Linked DNA regions of Homo sapiens: regions 1, 2, 4, 5, 6 and 7 are each linked to region 3. Evidence: promoter capture Hi-C in human tissues and cell types (Jung and others, 2019). All regions are on one chromosome and are shown on one strand. Each heading gives the region's core, a stretch centred on a gene start or on the middle of the fragment in contact. The rest is flanking DNA. Distances are from core to core; before and after follow the strand shown.

Region 1 (2,700 bases), core at 19-2,518, 820 kb before region 3:
TTAGTAGAGATGGGGTTTCTCCATGTTGGTCAGGCTGGTCTCGAACACCTGATCTCCGGTGATCTGCCCGCCTCGGCCTCCTGAAGTGCTGGGATTACTGGCGTGAGCCAATGCGCCCAGCCCAGATAACCCTTTTTTTTTTTTTTTTTTTTGAGCAGGAGTCTCGCTCTGTCGCCCAGGATGCAGTGCAGTGGCGCGATCTTGGCTCACTGCAACCTCTGCCTCCCGGTTGAAGTGATTCTCCTGCCTCAGCCTCCCTAGTAGCTGGGACTACAGGCATGTGCCACCATGCCCGGCTAATTTTTTTTTTTCCTTGTGGCAACGGGGTTTCACCGTGTTTGGTCTTGATCTCTTGACCTTGTGATCCGCCCACCTTGGCCTCTCAAACTGCTGGGATTACAGGCATGAGCCACCGTGCCTGGCCCCAGATAACCCTTTTTATGTGAGAGTGTAGAGAATGTTGCTGCAGCTGGTGTGGGATGGGGGATGGCTGGGTTGAGACTGTGTTGTCACCTGCAGTGTACACCTGAGGTGACATGGTTCTGAACATCACTTTCCCCATTGAAGGCCCGAGTGACCTATCACTTGCTTCTCAAAATTCAGGAACTAGGTGACTCTAGGAGAGTGCACAGGAAGCTTTCTGCATATTCTTTCAAGAGATTTCGAGGTCACTGACTCTTTTTTCAAGACTTAAACACAAAATCCACATCCATCATTCTTGCGTAAAGAGACCATTCTTTTTTTTTTGAGATGGAGTCTCGCTCTGTTGCCCAAGCTGGAGTGCAGTGGCATGATCTCGGCTCACTGCAAGCTCTGTCTTCTGGGTTCATGCCCTTCTCCTGCCTCAGCCTCCCAAGTAGCTGGGACTACAGGCACCCGCCGCCATGCCCGGCTAATTTTTTGTATTTTTTAGTGGAGATGGGGTTTCAACATGTTGGCCAGAATGGTCTTGATCTCTTGACCTCGTGATCCACCCGCCTTGGCCTCCCAAAGTGCTGGGATTACAGGTGTGAGCCACTGCACCCGGCCCAAGATGGGGTTTCATCATGTTGACCTGGCTGGTCTCAAACTCCCAACCTCAAGTGATCCACTCACTTCAGCCTCCCAAAGTGCTGGGATGACAGGCGTGAGCCACAGTGCCCGGCCTAGTACATTGTTTAAATGGTGCATGTAAAACCTCATGGTACTACAACTGCCTGGTGACAGACTCACCAGAGTAAATAACTATCCTGCTGTTCTCCAACCACATGGGATTCCCCAAACAAAGATTTGTTGAGTCCAAGATGCATCATGCCAGAACTCTTGCAGTCATACACATAATTTGTTTCATTTTAATAAATACGGTTATCTTTTTTCTTCAGTTTATTGTTTTTAATGTATCATCTTCTAGGTTTCATTACACATCAAAGATGAATAATTTCTCTCATCTTTAGGACATGCTGAAAACACTCATTAGTGATTTTGAACAGTATTATTTCCTAAACATCCTAGTTGGAATGGTTGATCCTAAAAGCTACCATGTGTCAGGCTCACCTGAGTGCAGACTGTGGTCTAAACAAGCTAAAGTTTTAATTCTTCCATCTTCAAATACGGAGCATATTTGCTTGTTTTGCTCTTTAGCAAAACACTGCAAAGTCATTCGCCAGGATCTCCTGCAGACTGGCATTCAGTGATGGAGAACAGACTCCTAGGTGAGATCCCTGGTCACAGGATCCAGATGACTATGACTGCAAGTCTGGAAAAGAAGAGACAGAACAAAGATTTACCAGCATAACCCTCTGAGAATGTGCCCCAGCCATCCTGGAGGGAAGAGCTCCCTATTGACCCAGCACTGCAGAATCCACAGAGGAAGGACAGCTCTGGCCACCAGGGAGCAGCCACACGACAAGAGAGGACCCGGTGTCCCCACAGGTGAGGAAATGAGTCCATGGGGCTGGTCAGTGCTCTCGATTTCATTCTGCCATAACAGGACTTTGTGTAGTCACCACCTGAGTCCTATACAGTGAACAGCCAAGGAGACATGGACAGATTCACCCCTGAGGAACCCAGTAGAATGTGAAGTCTGCCCTGAGGTCACGAAGAAAAGACTCAGGGGGCTGCCTGGCCTGGCCCTGATGGAGGGGGCCATGGACAGAACAACGGGGAGGCAGGGGTGTCTCTGAGAGGCTCTGGTCACCTTGTCATACAATGGTGGTGTACAATGTCGCACCATGGACACTAGGGGGCGCCTGCGCACCATTCCTGAGAAGACTGGGTGTGATGAGAGCAGGACCAGCGCCACCTGTCCTGCTTGGTGCCCTATGCTTAGGGCTCACAGATGTCAACTCTCCACCCCCTGGGACCACACAGCCCCACCCCTGGCACTCTCTGACATCCTCAGGCAGAGGAGCTTGACCCAGGGCCCAGGGTGGGATCAGAAAGCTGGAGGGTCTGATTTGCATGGATGGACCCTCCTTCTCTCAGAGTATAAAGAGGGGCAGGGAGAGACTTGGGGAAGCTCTGCTTCAGCTGTGAGCGCAGAAGGCAGGACTCGGGACAATCTTCATCATGACCTGCTCCCCTCTCCTCCTCACCCTTCTCATTCACTGCACAGGTGCCCAGACACAGGGTCAGGGGAGGGGTCCAGGAAGCCCATGAGGCCCTGCTTTCTCCTTCTCTCTCTAGACCAAGAATCACCGTGTCTGTGTCTCTCCTGCTTCC
Region 2 (2,700 bases), core at 71-2,570, 800 kb before region 3:
CAAGGGGCTTTACTTTCCAGCAATCTTACCAGAAAACAACTGCATAATTTCCATGAACATTGGACTGTGCTTCAAGTATCCTCCAAAGGATCTCACTTACTGCCCTATGAGTGACATGGGCTGGGATGCTCTGGTAGAGCACACTCTGGCTGGTGTCTTGGTGCTAGAAATGGATTCAATCACTGGACAAGAAAGTCCTTCAGGGGCAAACATAAGGACACTGAGGGTCATCTTATTCTACCTGCCTTCTCTCCTTACTTGTATCCTAGGCCAGCCTATGCTAGCGCAACTGTCCACAGATCTCTCTCTCTCTTTCTGTCTCTCTCTCGTGTGTGTGTATGTGTGTGTGTGTGTGCATGTGTGTATCAAATGATCAAACATCTTCATTCAAAAGTCCAAGCCCTGCAGCATCATGAGACAGTGCTACCACACATGAAGAAAATGTTCAAAGGGCACCAAATAGAGATCGCATGATCCAAAGTTATTTCTGATCCCAGAAAAGAATGGCACACAATCAATATGAATAGTATTAGATATCAAAATTATAGTACAATCTCATTTGTTTTTACCATAGATTCAAACTCTCTTTAGCATATTGGAAAGCAGAATCCATGTTCTACTGATGCAATTCCCCTTGACCATCATGAAAGAATTGGACTGAAAGCAGGACATTTCTGAAGTCTCTGGAGGATACGTAACATGACTGTTGGAGGGAATGCACATAGGAAGAGGTAGTGAATTATGTGTCAAGTGCCCCAACAAAAGGCTGTCAGTGTTTGTCTCTGACACATTGTTGGGGAGAAAGGTGGAGTCACAGGACACACTGCCATGGGACCCACGAGACTTGATCCTACATCCCACAGCGGGCAGCCTGCATCAACGTGGTCATGCAGGGATAGAAACACAGCCACAGAAAGCTTTCACCTGCCCAAGCAGCATCTCCCAAGAGCCAGCATGGGTGCTGTCTCTGCTCTGCTTCTTCCTGGACTGTGTCTCAGAGCCCTGAGTTCTCCCTCACCCAGTTTCCCAATCCCCCTCTTCTCCACTGGTTACCAGGGGTTAGGGGAGTGGGGAGGGGAAATAAACGTTTAAAGGGTACAAACTTTTCACTTGGGATGATGAGAAAGTTATGGAAATTCATAATGGTGATGACTGTATCACTTTTTTTTCAGAGGTGGTAACTTGCTCTGTTGCCCAGGCTGGAGTGCAGTGGTACAATGATAGCTCACTGCATCCTTGAACTCTTGGGTCTAGGCAAGCCTCCTGCCTCAGACTCCTGAGTAGCTGGGACTACAGGTGCAAGCCACCATGCCAGGCAATTCTATCACATTGTGAATATACTTAACACCACTGAATTTTACAGTTAAAAGTGATTTAAATGGCAAATTTTATGTTGTGTGTATTCTATGACAATTAAAAATACACTTGTTCAAATGTCAAAATATATATGATGTTATATTCATAAAATTTTCCTTTTCACACTTATATATTTATCCTATTCTAACTCATTCTCATCAATTAAAAAAAGTACTGTAATTACTGGTCATTATGTACTAAATTTTCCATAATTCACATTGAAGCCTTAACCCCCAATATTACTGTATTTGGAGACAGAGCATTACAGAGGGTAATTAAGATGAAATGAGATCATAAGGACCGGCATCCTTATAAGAGGAGATTAGAAAATGGACAACATAAAATGAGATGAGGACAGAGTGAGAAGGTGGTCATCTACAAGTGTGGACACATCTTCAGTTTGTGTGGAGTAACAGTTGAAGGGCTCGCCCATCCTATAATGAAAGTTGGAACAGGTGCCTTGGGCGGGCTCCAGGATTAACTGATCTAGTCACTGCATCCCACTGTGGGACCCCAGAGGGAAAGAAGCACTGTGGAGATTCCTGAGACATTAGAAATGGAGCCTGAGAAATTTCCAGGACACCCACATGGGCTCCAGGTGAAGCAGGGGCCCAGAAGGCCTTGTCTGATCCCTGAGTGTGACGCAGCACCTGGCCACTAGGGGGAGGCAAACTCTGTGAATCCTAAGGGACCTGAGCTCTTGCTCTGAGCCCTGCCCTTGTTAATCACCAGCCCTGGGAGGGAGCCGATTTGCATGGAATGTGATGTCCCTGCCCACTTCTTCACTGAGGGAATAAGAGGCTTTAGGGCCTCAGGCTCAGCTGAGAGACTGAAGAACCCAGCATTGCAGCAGCTCCACCATGGCCTGGGCTCCTCTGCTCCTCACCCTCCTCAGTCTCCTCACAGGTCAGGGTGGGCAGTGGGCTGGGCCCCCAAAGGGACCCCCACCTCCCAGCCTCCATCTCCCCATCCCTGCTCTTCCTCCTCCAACAGCTCATCAGCCACCCACCAACAGGAGCCCTCATGGGTGTCTGTGTTTCCAGGGTCCCTCTCCCAGCCTGTGCTGACTCAGCCACCTTCTGCATCAGCCTCCCTGGGAGCCTCGGTCACACTCACCTGCACCCTGAGCAGCGGCTACAGTAATTATAAAGTGGACTGGTACCAGCAGAGACCAGGGAAGGGCCCCCGGTTTGTGATGCGAGTGGGCACTGGTGGGATTGTGGGATCCAAGGGGGATGGCATCCCTGATCGCTTCTCAGTCTTGGGCTCAGGCCTGAATCGGTACCTGACCATCAAGAACATCCAGGAAGAGGATGAGAGTGACTACCACTGTGGGGCAGACCA
Region 3 (2,700 bases), core at 92-2,591:
TTCAGGGTGATCTCTAGCTCCTGCCAAATCCCCAAATCCAAATTAGTAAGTGACCCCACAGCTTAATCTTCCCTTCTCCTAAATCCCATTGGCACACTCCCTTCCCCTAATTCTCTATTTACTTCTCTGCTTCCCGCAGTGGACTCCAATTTCCCTGAGGGTGGACACCATGTCCGTTCTCTTTCCTTGTCTCCCCAGTGCTAGGCATATACCAGGAAGCTTTCAGTACATGTAGGACAAATGAATAGTTAATGGACTTGAATCAAGCTTTACAGTATAAAAGCACTTTCACCATCTCAGGTGATCCATTGAAATAGATAGTTGCGTTTATTTTATAGTTGAGTAAACTGAGGTGCGGAAGGTGGAACAACTCACCTAAGTTCACCCCCTAAGCCTCAACCTTAGCAGTGAAACTCACTAAAAGACATTAAACAGAGCCAGGTGTGGTGGCCCTTGCCTGTAGTCCCAAGGACTGGGGAGGCTGAGGCGGGAGGATTCCTTGAGCCTAGGAGTTCGAGTCCAGCCTGGACAACATAGCAAGACTCCATCTCTTTAAAAAAAAAAAAAAAAGACATCAAACACCAGCCTCCAGCACACTTAGCTTTGAATTGAAGATGACTGAGTTAGATCTGTGTACCAAGGCTTCCATATTGTGATGCAGAAAAGTTAAGGAGCTGAATTAAGTAGGTTCTCAAACTGAACCCCGGACTTCGAAGCTGGTTCCACGGTTTTATAAGGGCCACAAGAGGCCATCTAGCCCAAAACAGCTAACTTTCCAAACCGAAACTAGTTCAGAGGAAATCACTGACTCAGGTCAGCTTTTTATTAAGGAAATTAATTTTGTACCGTGAGCTCTAGAAGCCAGGCATATGATATTCAGACAGCACTGGATTCAGAACTATGCAGACTAAGGTCAGTAGATGGTAGGCAGGTCTATCTTCTGCAGCTGCAGGGTGCTTGACTCCAATTAAACATCAATACCACATCAGGAGCTCTTATGCCATAACCGCCCAACCTCTCCCAGCCGAGCTGATCACCAGAACCTGCGCGAATCTCTCCACGGTCAGCCCCACCCAGGGCTCAGGCTCCGCCCCCGGGCCTCCATAGCCCCGCCCACCGCCCACCCATCCAGCACCGCCCTTGTTGTCATGGTGATCTCCGGCTCTCCAGGGTGTCCAGGAGTCTCTCTGCTGCCAGCCCCGCCCAGACTCCAGGCAGGTTCTCGTTGCTATGGTGATCGCCGGTGCAAGCTGGATGCTTGGACGCGCCGCTGCCAGTCCAACGCAGACCCCGCCCACGACGTCGACGATTCGTGTAGCCCGCAGGTCCCGCGTGGCTCTCGTTGCCATGGTGATCGCCGCCGCTGGCTCAGGCGGACCAGGCCGCGCGGAGCCCCAGCTTTCACAGCCATCGCTGGTGAGTCAGCTCGCCCACTCTGTCCGACCCTCCCGGTCACCCAACCCCGTGCTGGCACATCCCGAGGCCAGGGCCGCGAGGGCACAGCGTCCGCGCCCACTTCCCGCCCCTATAACTTGAAAGCGGCCTGCGGCCCCGGGGCGTCCTCATTTCCGGAGCGCAAACTCTGGGCCAGGCCCGCGCTGGTTGTGGAGGAGAGCCAGGTCAGATGCGGGAAGACAACCGGACTCCGCCAGGACCACCCCAGCCCAGCCTGGAGAGGAGTCCGGACAGAAAAAGGAGACAGAGGGGCTGTTGAGGAGGCTCGAGGAGTCAGAGGCCTGGTGAAGTGAGGGTTTTCAGGGAAAAGGCCTAGTTGGCTGAAAGTTAAGGCCCCCAGGCCCACCTAGAGCCTTCGTCCTTTGCAGACTGGGAGCAGGAGACCCCTCCCCACTCTACTTCCACTGCCTGAGCTGTGCCATGCCTCACAGCCCAGTAAGGTAAGCTCAGAGGGGAGCTCCTCCTTGGTAGACACCTGTCAAGGGGAGACCCAGGTCTTCTGACTCCCAGGCAGGGTGGGGCAGGCCTGGTTCCCCCATACCATGCTGCCTGCTGTATGCAGATTGAGAGAAATGGCCTCTGCCCCATATTCCTGACAGAGAGGGAAGCCTGGATCTGGTTTTATTTATAATTCTTGAGACAAGGTCTTACTCTATCACCCAGGCTGGAGTGCAGTGGCACCTTCACGGTTCACTGCACCCTTGACCTCCCAGGCTCAAGCATTCCTCCCACCTTCCTCCCAAGTAGCTGGGACTGCAGGCACAGGCCACCATGCCCTGCTAATTTTTTTGGTTTTTTTTTGTAGAGACTGAGGTTTCACTTTGTTGCCCAGGCTGGTCTCAACCTCCTGGGCCCAAGTGATCCTCCCACCTTGGCCTCCCAAAGTGCTGGGATTACAGGCATGAGCCACTGCACCCAGCCTGGATCTGATGAAAAGTTAGGTGGAAACTCATGGGTGAATCCCCAGGTATTTGCACAGCTCCTTAACTGTCTTTCTCCTGGTTGGGTCCACAGGACTGTGGAAGAATGAGGTCCTCCCTGACACCTTTGGGGCCCCCTGTGAGCCGCGACCGTGTCATCGCCAGCTTCCCTAAGGTAGAGAGTCATTACGTCTGCAGTGCTCTCCTGGCCCTGCAGCCACATCAGCTCTCCCCACTCTACACTCATGCCTAGAAGTAAAGCAGGTGAATCAAGGAGGTCTGTCCATTGTCAGATTTACCTTGAGGAGCTGGGAGACTGGTCACT
Region 4 (2,700 bases), core at 52-2,551, 960 kb before region 3:
TCTCTGCTCCACTATGAAGGCTGCCACGTGGCCCTGAGAAACAGTGCCTGTTTTCCTTACTACTCAAGAAAGATAGATAGATAGATAGGCAGATAGCTAGCTAGATAGATAGCTAGCTAGACAGATAGGCAGATAGCTAGCTAGCTAGCTAGCTAGACAGATAGATAGGCAGATAGCTAGCTAGATGCTAGATAGACAGATACCTAGATAGCTAGATAGATTTTTTGCTTTGGGTTCCTTAGGAACAAGTTTGCTAGGCCAAGCTCCTAAGGAGTACACAAGTCTGTATTAATGTGGCCAATATTAAGGCAGATCCTGTCACCCCCTGCATGTCGATACATTGTCACCACATGGGAACTGCAAGGACATTTTTCCCTGTGGATTTAAACACTGGAACTCTGCTGCATGGCACACCCCTGCCACATCAAGTTTCATTTTAACAATCACCCATAAGATATAACTTCTTAAGAAAATTTTGAATTCTAACAAAATGCTAGAAATCACACTGTTGATACACAGCGATGGAAATAATGAAAATTTATAGACAGTGAAATAAAAAGATTTAAAATTTTTGGTGGTTTATAAAGGTTTTCTCAGTTGTTCAGTGCGTGGGTTTTGGGATTAGGAGAAAATGAGGAGAAACTGCCTCCACCACATTGAACATGACAACTGATTTGCAATAATCTAACAAAGAAGAAGGATATAAATAATCATTAATGTCATCCTGACAGCCCTGATCCTAAATGTCAGAATTTTATTTCTTAACTTTTTTCTCCAAAAAAAAAATGTAGCTTCAGAAAAACTTCTGGAATGGTGGTATGAGGCCATCAGAAAACCTGATTCACCATACAAGCAATGAGAACAGCAGTAAAAATGATATAAATCTACTTTTCAGAACTCTGTACATTACCAAAAGCTTACAAAATTCTGGGAATCATAAAAAATAGTAATAACAGCCAGACATGGTGGCTCATGCCTATAATCCCAACACATTGGGAGCTGAAGCAGAGCGATTGCTTTATCACTCCTGGGATTTTGTGATCAGACTGGGCAACAGAGTGAGGCCTCTTCTCTAAAAAACATTTTAAAAAAGTAGCTATATGTGGTGGTGTGTGGGTGTAGTTGCAGCTACTGGGGAGGCTGAAGGTGGAGGATCACTTGAGTCTGGGAGGTGGAGGCTGCAGTGGGCTGTGATTGTGCCACTCTACTTCAGCCTGAGTCATAAAGCAATACCCTGTCTGAATCAATCAATCAATCAATTAAAATAATGTGGAATCTCTGTAAGAATCTGAAGCTTTGTGGTGATTTTATTTCTTTTGCTCTCTCCCAAGTTCCACAGTAGCCTTAAAAACCAACAGCCTCAAATCTCCTGGATCTAGGGAAACTAGAAAAATAGCATTCACTGAAGCAACCAAATACCAGATCTGGAATTTTCTCAAAAGCCCCATTCCCGTGCGACTGTCATTATTTGAGCTTTCCAAAGCTCAGAAAAGCTTCACGCTCTGTACTTTTCTAAATGTGAATTGTCTCAGAGCTCGCTTGGTTTAAACAGCTTCATCCTCAATACATTTATCAAAACAATCAGTGAGATCTGTTAAGGTCCTGAGTCAGTGATACAAGATGGGGTCAATAAAAGGCTGACCAAAAACCTTGAGAGAAAAAAACTGGGTGTCAGAATCTGTAGAAGATTTTGATGAGCTCTGCCATATTCCTGGAAAGACAGAAGATCACTCTCATGCTCAGAGTTATGTGCATGGCCAGGTAAAAATTAGGAAAGTCCTTAATTTTCGACACTGGCTGAAATCAACAAGGAAGGCTAAAATAGAGTTGTAAAGTGGCGGGGTTTTGCAGTCATGACCCAACCCCTGCACAGAGCATTCGGCAAATGCTGAGGAATGTGTTGTTCGAGGCGTTTAAGAACATGTCTGTCCAATAATAAGCTAATGACTGATATAATTGAGCAGAGACTGCAGTGGCTGCACAAGCAAAGAAAACAGACTTAGAGAATTATTCCAGTACCGTGAAACAATAAATCATCATCAACAATAACAACTACAACAAAACCAGAAGCAATTATGACAAATATTTTAAGGAAAGAATCTGATTTCCAGAATCGTCACATTGTGTGACTGAGAAGCTCCATTTGGCAAAGTGAAATTTTGAGGCAGGGACACAGCAAAGTACTGTCCATACACAGGGTTAAAAAGGAAAGCAAAGCAAAACATAAAAACAAACAAACAACATTAAAAATAAGTTGACAAAATGATGTCCAGAGATGCATTTGGTGGTTACTACATAAAAACTTCAAATTAGCTTTTGTAAATGTGGTCAAATAAATAAATAAAACAACGTTAACAATTGTTAAGGAAAGTACGGAAAGAATGCCTCATTACAGAGAGAACATTGGCGGGGTGCAGTGCCTCACACCTGCAATCACAGAACTTTGTGAGGCCAAGGCAGACAGATCTCTTGAGCCCAGGAGTTTGAGGCTAGCCTGGGTAACATGGCCAAACCATGTCTCTACAGGAAATACAAAAAAGCTAGCTGGGCATGGTGGTGCATGCCAGTAGTACCAGCTACTCAGGAGGCTGAGGTGGGAGGATTTCTGGAGCTTGGGAGGCAGAAGTTGCAAGAGCAAAGATCATGTCAATGCACTCCATCCTGGGGGACAGAGCAAGAGTCTGTCTCTAATAATAATAT
Region 5 (2,700 bases), core at 17-2,516, 990 kb before region 3:
AGTATTTCCATATTAAGGTAGAAGAAATATTTAAAAGCACTTCTACTTGTGATGTCATTGGGGGTGCAACACAATATAAAGTACGCACATTGCTGGAGGAGAAGCATAAAATAAAGAACTCACGGGGCAGAAACTTAAGACACACCTAAATCAAATCTTTGTTTTCAGCATTATCTTTCATTACTATTCTTTGTTACAAAAAAACATTGCTATCTGTCCTTTTCTATATGTTCTCTACATTAAAACTTATTATTTGTATACATACTGTTCCCTACATCTGCAGTGCCATTCCCAGCTCACATATCTGCCCTCTTAAATTTATATCAAATTCAACTCCCTTCAAAAAGCCTTCTCAGTTGCTTTAACCCAAGCCAGTAGTCTGTCTTCTAGAAAACAGTTGATGCCGATGCCTCCTTTTCCTTTAGCAACTGAAAATAATATTATAGTTATTTAATGTGTGTGTGTGTGTGTGTGTGTGCATAACATCATACTATTTAGTAGTATCTATATCTATCAAGTATCTGCTACAGTGGATGATAGATGACTTAAAGACAGAAATATGTTATTCATATCTACTTCTCACAGGTCTAGTGCTGTTGCAGGATATTTTTTAAGGAATCAGAGAGACTGATGGGGTTCAGGAGGATATTTATTATTTAGGTGCACCAGCCCAGTCGGATTAACATCCAAAGGACTGAGCCCTGAACAAAGAGTTAAGTTACCTTTTAAGCATTTTGTAGGGTGGGAGGAGATCTGTGCAGGGGGAAGCATGTTAGAGAAGTGAGAAACAAAGACAGTTATTCAATTAATTGAGAAATGCGTTACATCATTTCTTACTTTTCAAGGAAAAACATGTTTTGCGACTTTTGTTTATGTGTCTAGTGACTTTGCAGCTGCCCAGCTAGGGAATCAGGGTCTTCACAATGCCTGGGAATGGAGGGGAGAGAAAGCTCATTAGCCACAGAAAAATAGGCCGTTAGTTTTTTAAAGGACTCTAGCTCTTTCTCTTTCTCAGGGGGAATTGGATTTTCTTACATACAACTGAGGTTCTGCTTACACATTCTTTAATTTCTTTTAATTCCTGTTCCAGTGCAGTGCAATGTTCATAGTAGATGCTTAATATTTTTTGAATTATTGTATCTTTAGTCATTGCGAGCCATCATTTTGAGAGTCAGTCTCATTCTTTTAGCCCTAGATTATTTTTATTTTCTTGAGATACGTGAATAAAGGGCACAGGAAAAAAACACAGTTGAGAGTTTTGGATAATAGTAACCTAATTCACCCAGATTTTACTTCATATTGGTTGGAACTCTAAGTTGGGTGCAACTAACATGAGACTTGTTTTGATTTATTGTAAACATATTCTTGAATGACTAATGAACAGTGCTTCATGTGAACAAATTTTCACCTTCTGATAATTTCCAATATTACACTTTGAAAAACATTCCCATTGTAGTGCTCTAGAAAATATAATTTCAATTGTTAAAATTCAATATTACTGTAATTGAGGATATTAAATAACTTGTTGTTACATGATGCTAGCTGCAGCTTAAATTTCAGATCATGAGTGTTGTTAATATTATATAGTTGGAATTAGTTCTGAGATCAATGAATCAATGCTGTCTTACTGTTTTGTCTTTAATTTTTATACCACATTTATTTTGTGAGTGGATTTCATAAAAGGAAGTTGCTTTATGTTGCCAAGCTCATTATCTTGGGTTTTTGTCCAGAGCTGAATTCCCTTTTTCATCAAAGGACAGAGAGAGCCCATTATAAACTATTGAGTAATGCTGATTTGATGGGTAGGCCACTTACCTTTAAGTGGAAAGGAGGCCAGGCGCGGTGGCTCACGCCTGTAATCCCAGCACTTTGGGATGCTGAGGAGGGCGGATCATGAGGTCAGGAGATCGAGACCAGTCTGGCCAACTTGGAGAAACCCTGTCTCTACTAAAAATACAAAAATTAGCCGGGCGTGGTGGCGGGTGCCTGTAGTCCCAGCTACTCGGGAGGCCGAGGCAGGAGAATGGCGTGAACCTGGGAGGCGGAGCTTGCAATGAGTCAAGATCACACCGCTGAACTCCAGCCTGGGTGACAGAGCGAGACTCCTTCTCAAAAAAAAATTACACAAAAATGTTAGACTAATAAATATTAATAAACACTAAAGGAAGAAATTTAGTGGAACATTTATCAGAGGCAACAGACCAGGAAGTTATAGTTACCCTGTGAAAAGGCATCATCTAGGATTCATAGAAAACATTTGCAAATTGGCAACAACCACCACCACAACAAACTAAAACAAATGAAAGAAATAGACATTTATACAGGGAAAATATAAATAGATAATAAGTGTAATAAATTTTGTGACTTTCCACTTGAAAACAAAGAAATGGAAATAAAACCTATGTAAAGAAGTGGTGGAGTGAGCCGAGCTGGGGTGGGAGGGGTGGGGGCATCCCAGGCAGAGGGAACAGCAGATGCAAAGGTCTGGAGGCTGGAGCAGGCTGTGAGGGGTGAGAGCAGCAAGTACATGAAGTCTAGACCACAAATCGATGCTTCACCCTCAAAAATAGCCTCTCACTGGCCACCACTCAGGCCCAGATACATGTGTAAGGTGGGCAGCCTTCAGGAAAAGTGACCGCAAAAGTGCACCACATTGGGAATTCTGAGGTGTTTGAGAAAGTTATGGATGAAGGGTGAGGT
Region 6 (2,700 bases), core at 66-2,565, 780 kb before region 3:
CCAGGAATAAATAACCTTGTCCCAAAAACAAACATATTTAAAGACATTTCCTTCTGTGGACACTGATTCCATGCTATCTGTTTTCCAAGGAAGTGGTGAGCCCGTTTCTGAGAACACCTGGTATCAATGGCTGTCCCTTCCAAACCAAGCAAAAAGTGATTTCTTGTCGGTGTGGATTTGGTTTTGTTATTAATTTTAAAACATACCTTTGAAGACTTAGATCTCTGAAACTACTAGATCTCTAGAAGTGTAATTGTGAAAAAAGTTTGCTTGCATCATCAACAACATGAAAAACTCTTTCTAAATAAAATTTGTTTTGAAGTTAAAAAAAAGAATAATGCAAGATTGGAAACTGGGAGGTCTGAAGATTCCCAAGAGCACTCTCAATTCTGAAGCTAATTTTCAGCTCAGGGACCCCAAACAGCCCTTCACTTCTTATGAGTCCCTAGAAGGACTCACATGACTCACTGAAAACTGTGACATTCATTAATGTGATTTTTCTACAGTGAAATAATACAGATTAAAATAATTCAAGGAAAGAGACACATGGGCAGAGTTCAGGAGAATTCCAAGCACAAGCATCCATTTGTCCTCTCCCAGTGGAGTAATAGACAACGCTGCATTCTGCCGGCAACAATGTGTGATTCTATGTAGGAAGCATTGCCAACCAGCAAAGCTCACCCAGGCTTGGTGTCCAGAAAAATTTTGATTGGTGGGGTGGGTGAGAGTGGGGTTGTTATGTAGACCTTGATGACCATCCTCATGGCTCACTTGAGTTTCCACTGAATTGACAATAAAACTTCAATCTTCAACCTTTGGTCATTTTCTTTTAAAAAATTTTCTAAAGAAAATTATTTTAAAAAGTCTCATATAAACGAGCTGTTTATCCAATATGAGGCTCAACGCAAATAGTTTCAAAAAGTCAGTAGGTCATTAAAACAATTATTTAGTCATTCAAACTAAATATTTAGTCATTCAAACGTTGTTATCTGGTGTTCAGATAGCAACGAACACCATGTAGCACTAAAATCGCATTATAGTCACAGGGGCAGGATTTCAGCAACAGCAAGAGAAAGTAATACAAACAGGAATGAGCAAAGAATAGACAAGTAATGGGTATGAATTGGCCTGGGAAATATTGTGGCAATGTCCAAAGACAAATCAATAGTTATTTGTTAAAGAAGTGAAAGACAACACATTCTCAGTCCAGGAAAGCCACCAGGGGGTGGTCTGGGTCTCTTGGATTGTAAGAAGCTCAAGAGGTTCAAACTTAATGAACCCTGCACAGATGCTCACTGACTCATGGAAATGTTAGAGCAGCTGCTTCCTCCCACAGGACAAATCCACAGCACACAGCCACCCTGGGCTGGCCCCCCACAGTGTAGCTGCTCTCAGGGCTGTGGACCCAGGTGGTGATAAAGGCAGTAAAGATTTGCATAAAGCAGCACACAGCACACCCCCTCCGTGCGGAGAGCTCAATAGGAGATAAAGAGCCATCAGAATCCAGCCCCAGCTCTGGCACCAGGGGTCCCTTCCAATATCAGCACCATGGCCTGGACTCCTCTCTTTCTGTTCCTCCTCACTTGCTGCCCAGGTTAAGAGAGATTTCAAATACCAGCCTTTGGAGGGATCCCTTTTTCTCCCTTTCTAATTCCTAATATATGTCTGTTTTTTTTGTTTCAGGGTCCAATTCCCAGGCTGTGGTGACTCAGGAGCCCTCACTGACTGTGTCCCCAGGAGGGACAGTCACTCTCACCTGTGGCTCCAGCACTGGAGCTGTCACCAGTGGTCATTATCCCTACTGGTTCCAGCAGAAGCCTGGCCAAGCCCCCAGGACACTGATTTATGATACAAGCAACAAACACTCCTGGACACCTGCCCGGTTCTCAGGCTCCCTCCTTGGGGGCAAAGCTGCCCTGACCCTTTTGGGTGCGCAGCCTGAGGATGAGGCTGAGTATTACTGCTTGCTCTCCTATAGTGGTGCTCGGCACAGTGACAGACCCATGAGAGGAACCAAGACATAAACCTCCCTCGGCCCTTGTGATGTGGAGATCACATGATCAGACATGCCAGATCCCAAGATAGCCTACATGTGGACCAGCCATAGAAAGGGGAAGGAAAGGGTTTGAATTGATTCCTATTTCTACTTAAGTCTTGATGTGTAGGAAATGTAAGAATGATTTGGGAGTAACTGGATCAAAAAAAAAAAAGGAAAAGTTAATTGTTTTCTATTCTAAAAGGAACACTAACAGCAGGATCACATATAAAGGCTGGGTCAAAATGCATTTCCTCCAGAAAGAAGCATCTTCAGTGTATAGGCTTTCTGAGCTAAGAGCAAAGAAACTTTTTTTGCATATTACTGAAGTTTGTTTTATTGAGTTACTTTCAAACCAATACCTCCAGAAAGAAGCATCTTCAGTGTATAGGCTTTCTGAGCTAAGAGCAAAGAGAAGAAACTCTTTTTTTGTATATGACTAAAATTTGCTTTATTGATTTACTTTCAAACCAATACATGCCTATTATATAAAATAAAAATATTAAAAACCACCAAGTTCACTGCAAAGCTGTCTCATCAGAAACAATCCAATTTCTTCATTTGGATGCATTCTTTCATTTTTGTTCTCAATATTTCCACAATGGGGGTCATACCTTGTGCTTTTTCTCTCTGGTTTTACACATCTTTATGCCTCCTCCCACACC
Region 7 (2,700 bases), core at 96-2,595, 940 kb before region 3:
CTGGAGTGCAGTGCAGTGAGCTGGGCTCACTGCAACCTAAGCCTCCCTGGTTCAAACGATTCTCCTGCCTCAGCCTCCTGAGTAGCTGGGATACAGGCGTGCGCCACCATGCCTGGCTAAATTTTTTGTATTTTTTAGTAGAGACGGGGTTTCACCATGTTGGTCAGGCTGGTCTGGAACTCCTGACTTCGGGATCCGCCGTCCTCGGCCTCCCAAAGTGCTGGGATTACAGGCGTGAACCACCGTGCCCGACCTCTTTTTTTTTTTTTTTTTTTTTTGGTTTTGTTAGTTTAGTTTTGTTTTATCTCTTTAACTTGACAGAGATGATCCATGTGGATCTCTGCATGGGTCTGGGAGCTGCAAGGCTCCTGGTGCATGGCCCAGTCCCGCCTGCCTTGGCAGGGCTCCTCCACCTGGCTCCTGGAGGAGCTGCTGCGCCCGACTACCCTGCATGGAGCCCGCGGCTTAGCGGCAGCTCGGGAGGGGCCTGATAGAAACTTCCCCCTGAGCAAGCAGCGCCAAACCCAGGCCGCCACCCAGGATGGAGGCTGCATCACCCCCGGGGAGCCCGGATCCTCGCCAGGGTCCACCAGGAGAAGAGCACATGGCGGAGATGAGCCTGCGGGGCTGGGAGAGAGAGAAGACACGGCGAAGATGCAGGTGAAGACGCTGCACTAAGGCCCCACCCAGAGGCTGAGGTTCCCCGACCAGACCAGCAGCAGCGAGGCTGCCCAGAGCGGCGCCAGCAAGGTGGTTCTCTCCAGGTCGGATCACAGGAGAAGCTAGCCTTGCACCTGGCCCAGGCGAGAAGCAGGACATGGGCTTACGCAGAAGAATCAGCACCGATTCCACATCATTCCCCATGGCAACGGCCTCTACGGTGCTGTCAGCAAGACCCAGTGCTAGACCCGAGCCTGCACCAGGAGCTGCGGAGCGGAGGGTGCGCCCCATCCCGATCGTCTCCACCACTTTAGCTCCCTGGGTGAGGGTGACACGGGGAAGCTTATTATCGCGGCTGCCCAAAACGGGGCGTGGCTGGGTACCCTGTGTACATAGGGTAGATGCTGAATGTGAATAGCACTGAACTACTAGAGGGAGGCTGGAGAGGCCCACAGTGTCTATCTACCATGATTCATTATTTGGGCCCAGAGGATTGCCTAAAGCCTAGTATTTGGCTCAGTTGGCTCAGTAACGGGCACTAGGATGCAGTATTTGATCACTCCTATCCTAACCAAGTACGACAACTGGTGCAAACAGACTCAAAAGCAAAAGGCAACGCAATGAATAACTTGCTCACTCTGGGGCCACATATTCTGAATAAAATGCCTACCCTTGAAATGTCTGAAAACCTTACACCCTGGGAAAATTGCATACAGAACTTGTGCTTGGAGAATGACATGAACTCTAATCAGGGTAATAACACTTGTAAAGTTCCTAACAGCTTTTCTTTCCTTTTTTTTTTTTTTTTTTTTTTTGAGATGGAGTTTCGCAGTGTTGCCCAGGCTGGAGTGCAGTGGCGCGACCTCGGCTCACTGCAAGCTCCGCCTCCTGGGTTCACGCCATTCCCCTGCCTCAGCCTCCCGAGTAGCTGGGACCACGGGTGCCCACCACCACGCCCGGCTAATTTTTTGTATTTTTAGTAGAGACGGGGTTTCACGGTGTTAGCCAGGATGGTCTCAATCTCCTGACCTCGTGATCCACCCGCCTCGGCCTCCTACAGCGCTGGGATTACAGGCGTGAGCCACCGCAGCTGGCACTTCCTAATAGCTTTTCTGTGAGTGTAACGCCATAATCATCTTTTAAAATGTTTTCTCGGAACTAAAAGTTGCTGGGCGCCTAAATGATGTTGCATGATAGTTTTGGGTGATTTTACTGCATCTGTAATTTTCTGTTTAAGTGAGCACTGCTTAATTTGAAAGCTAATTTCTCACAGTGTAAATCTGTTCATTCCTGGTAGTCTATTTTCTACAAAAGTGTATTTTTACACAACATTAAAAAATGGTGTACCTTCATCTATGACAGTACATTACTTTTGACAAGCAGCTTTCAGGCAGAAATTAAGAGAAGTGTTTTATATAAAATTTATTATTTTGAACAGAGTTTGTGATTTGGTAGTTACGCTGTTGAAATTTGAATTTTACAATTCTTAGAAACTTATATTGATGCATTCTTGTTACCAAATGATTGGCCCATTACATTTTGATACAAATAGATTTGTTGTTTTGGAACCATTATTTGTTTAGAAATGGTCAATCTTTTAGAGAGAAATACTTAACAAAGGATTGTGGGAAGTTTTTTTTTTTCTTCTTCTTTAACGGATTGTACCAGGTCTTACTTGAATGAAAGTCTGATGCTTGCTGATGGCAGAGTGACTAATCTGCACTAGATTGATGTTAGAGCAGAATGTTGGGTGATCTCAATTGTTTTTATTTATGTTTGTGATTTTGTTTTAAGGTAATCTTAACATGGTATAAGACTCTGTGACAAGCTAAACCTACTGCAATATAGCATGTTGGAGTCCCCTAAGAGTTTTAAAAGCTAATGGCATAAATGCCTGGAGCCAACCTCGGCAGTTATTTCATAGCAGAAGATACCGTCTTAATACTCCTTTTAAATTCTTTTAAAAGGCAAAATAGGATCATCCTATTTTATAATGTACAAATGTCTGCAGAGATTGTATGGTTTGTTGTGTTAATGTTT

What was found. The method cuts DNA at HindIII sites, captures the fragments that hold promoters and counts their contacts. A contact is called where the count stands out against the background at its distance.
Region 1: a fragment that was not itself captured here is called in contact with the fragment with the promoter of RAB36 in region 3 in 2 of the 25 tissues and cell types used here (dorsolateral prefrontal cortex and thymus).
Region 2: a fragment that was not itself captured here is called in contact with the fragment with the promoter of RAB36 in region 3 in 2 of the 25 tissues and cell types used here (lymphoblastoid cells and spleen).
Region 4: a fragment that was not itself captured here is called in contact with the fragment with the promoter of RAB36 in region 3 in 2 of the 25 tissues and cell types used here (bladder and hippocampus).
Region 5: a contact is called between a fragment that was not itself captured here and the fragment with the promoter of RAB36 in region 3, in 1 of the 25 tissues and cell types used here (dorsolateral prefrontal cortex).
Region 6: a contact is called between a fragment that was not itself captured here and the fragment with the promoter of RAB36 in region 3, in 2 of the 25 tissues and cell types used here (IMR-90 fibroblasts and liver).
Region 7: a fragment that was not itself captured here is called in contact with the fragment with the promoter of RAB36 in region 3 in 2 of the 25 tissues and cell types used here (H1 embryonic stem cells and mesenchymal stem cells).

Annotation. Positions count from the first base shown.
Region 1 is chr22:22,319,961-22,322,660 of GRCh38, forward strand. It overlaps IGL, the pseudogene BMS1P20 and IGLV1-51. Among named protein-coding and RNA genes, the nearest start is that of VPREB1, 77 kb to the left of the region's middle. The HindIII fragment of the contact is 8,428 bases long and covers 1-2,700 here.
Region 2 is chr22:22,341,008-22,343,707 of GRCh38, forward strand. It overlaps IGL, the pseudogene ASH2LP3 and IGLV9-49. Among named protein-coding and RNA genes, the nearest start is that of VPREB1, 98 kb to the left of the region's middle. The HindIII fragment of the contact is 3,556 bases long and covers 1-2,700 here.
Region 3 is chr22:23,144,136-23,146,835 of GRCh38, forward strand. RAB36 (RAB36, member RAS oncogene family) reads left to right here and starts at 1,342. Exons shown (of 11, transcript NM_004914.5): 1 at 1,342-1,416; 2 at 2,470-2,550. The coding sequence starts at 2,482. It also overlaps a transcript of RSPH14 not described here. RefSeq lists a silencer at 1,095-1,164. The HindIII fragment of the contact is 15,551 bases long and covers 1-2,700 here.
Region 4 is chr22:22,182,938-22,185,637 of GRCh38, forward strand. It overlaps IGL and the pseudogene BMP6P1. Among named protein-coding and RNA genes, the nearest start is that of VPREB1, 60 kb to the right of the region's middle. The HindIII fragment of the contact is 5,139 bases long and covers 1-2,700 here.
Region 5 is chr22:22,151,372-22,154,071 of GRCh38, forward strand. It overlaps IGL. Among named protein-coding and RNA genes, the nearest start is that of VPREB1, 92 kb to the right of the region's middle. The HindIII fragment of the contact is 8,574 bases long and covers 1-2,700 here.
Region 6 is chr22:22,368,100-22,370,799 of GRCh38, forward strand. It overlaps IGL, the pseudogene ASH2LP2 and IGLV7-46. Among named protein-coding and RNA genes, the nearest start is that of VPREB1, 120 kb to the left of the region's middle. The HindIII fragment of the contact is 6,576 bases long and covers 1-2,700 here.
Region 7 is chr22:22,202,752-22,205,451 of GRCh38, forward strand. It overlaps IGL and the pseudogene LOC100419915. Among named protein-coding and RNA genes, the nearest start is that of VPREB1, 41 kb to the right of the region's middle. The HindIII fragment of the contact is 6,097 bases long and covers 1-2,700 here.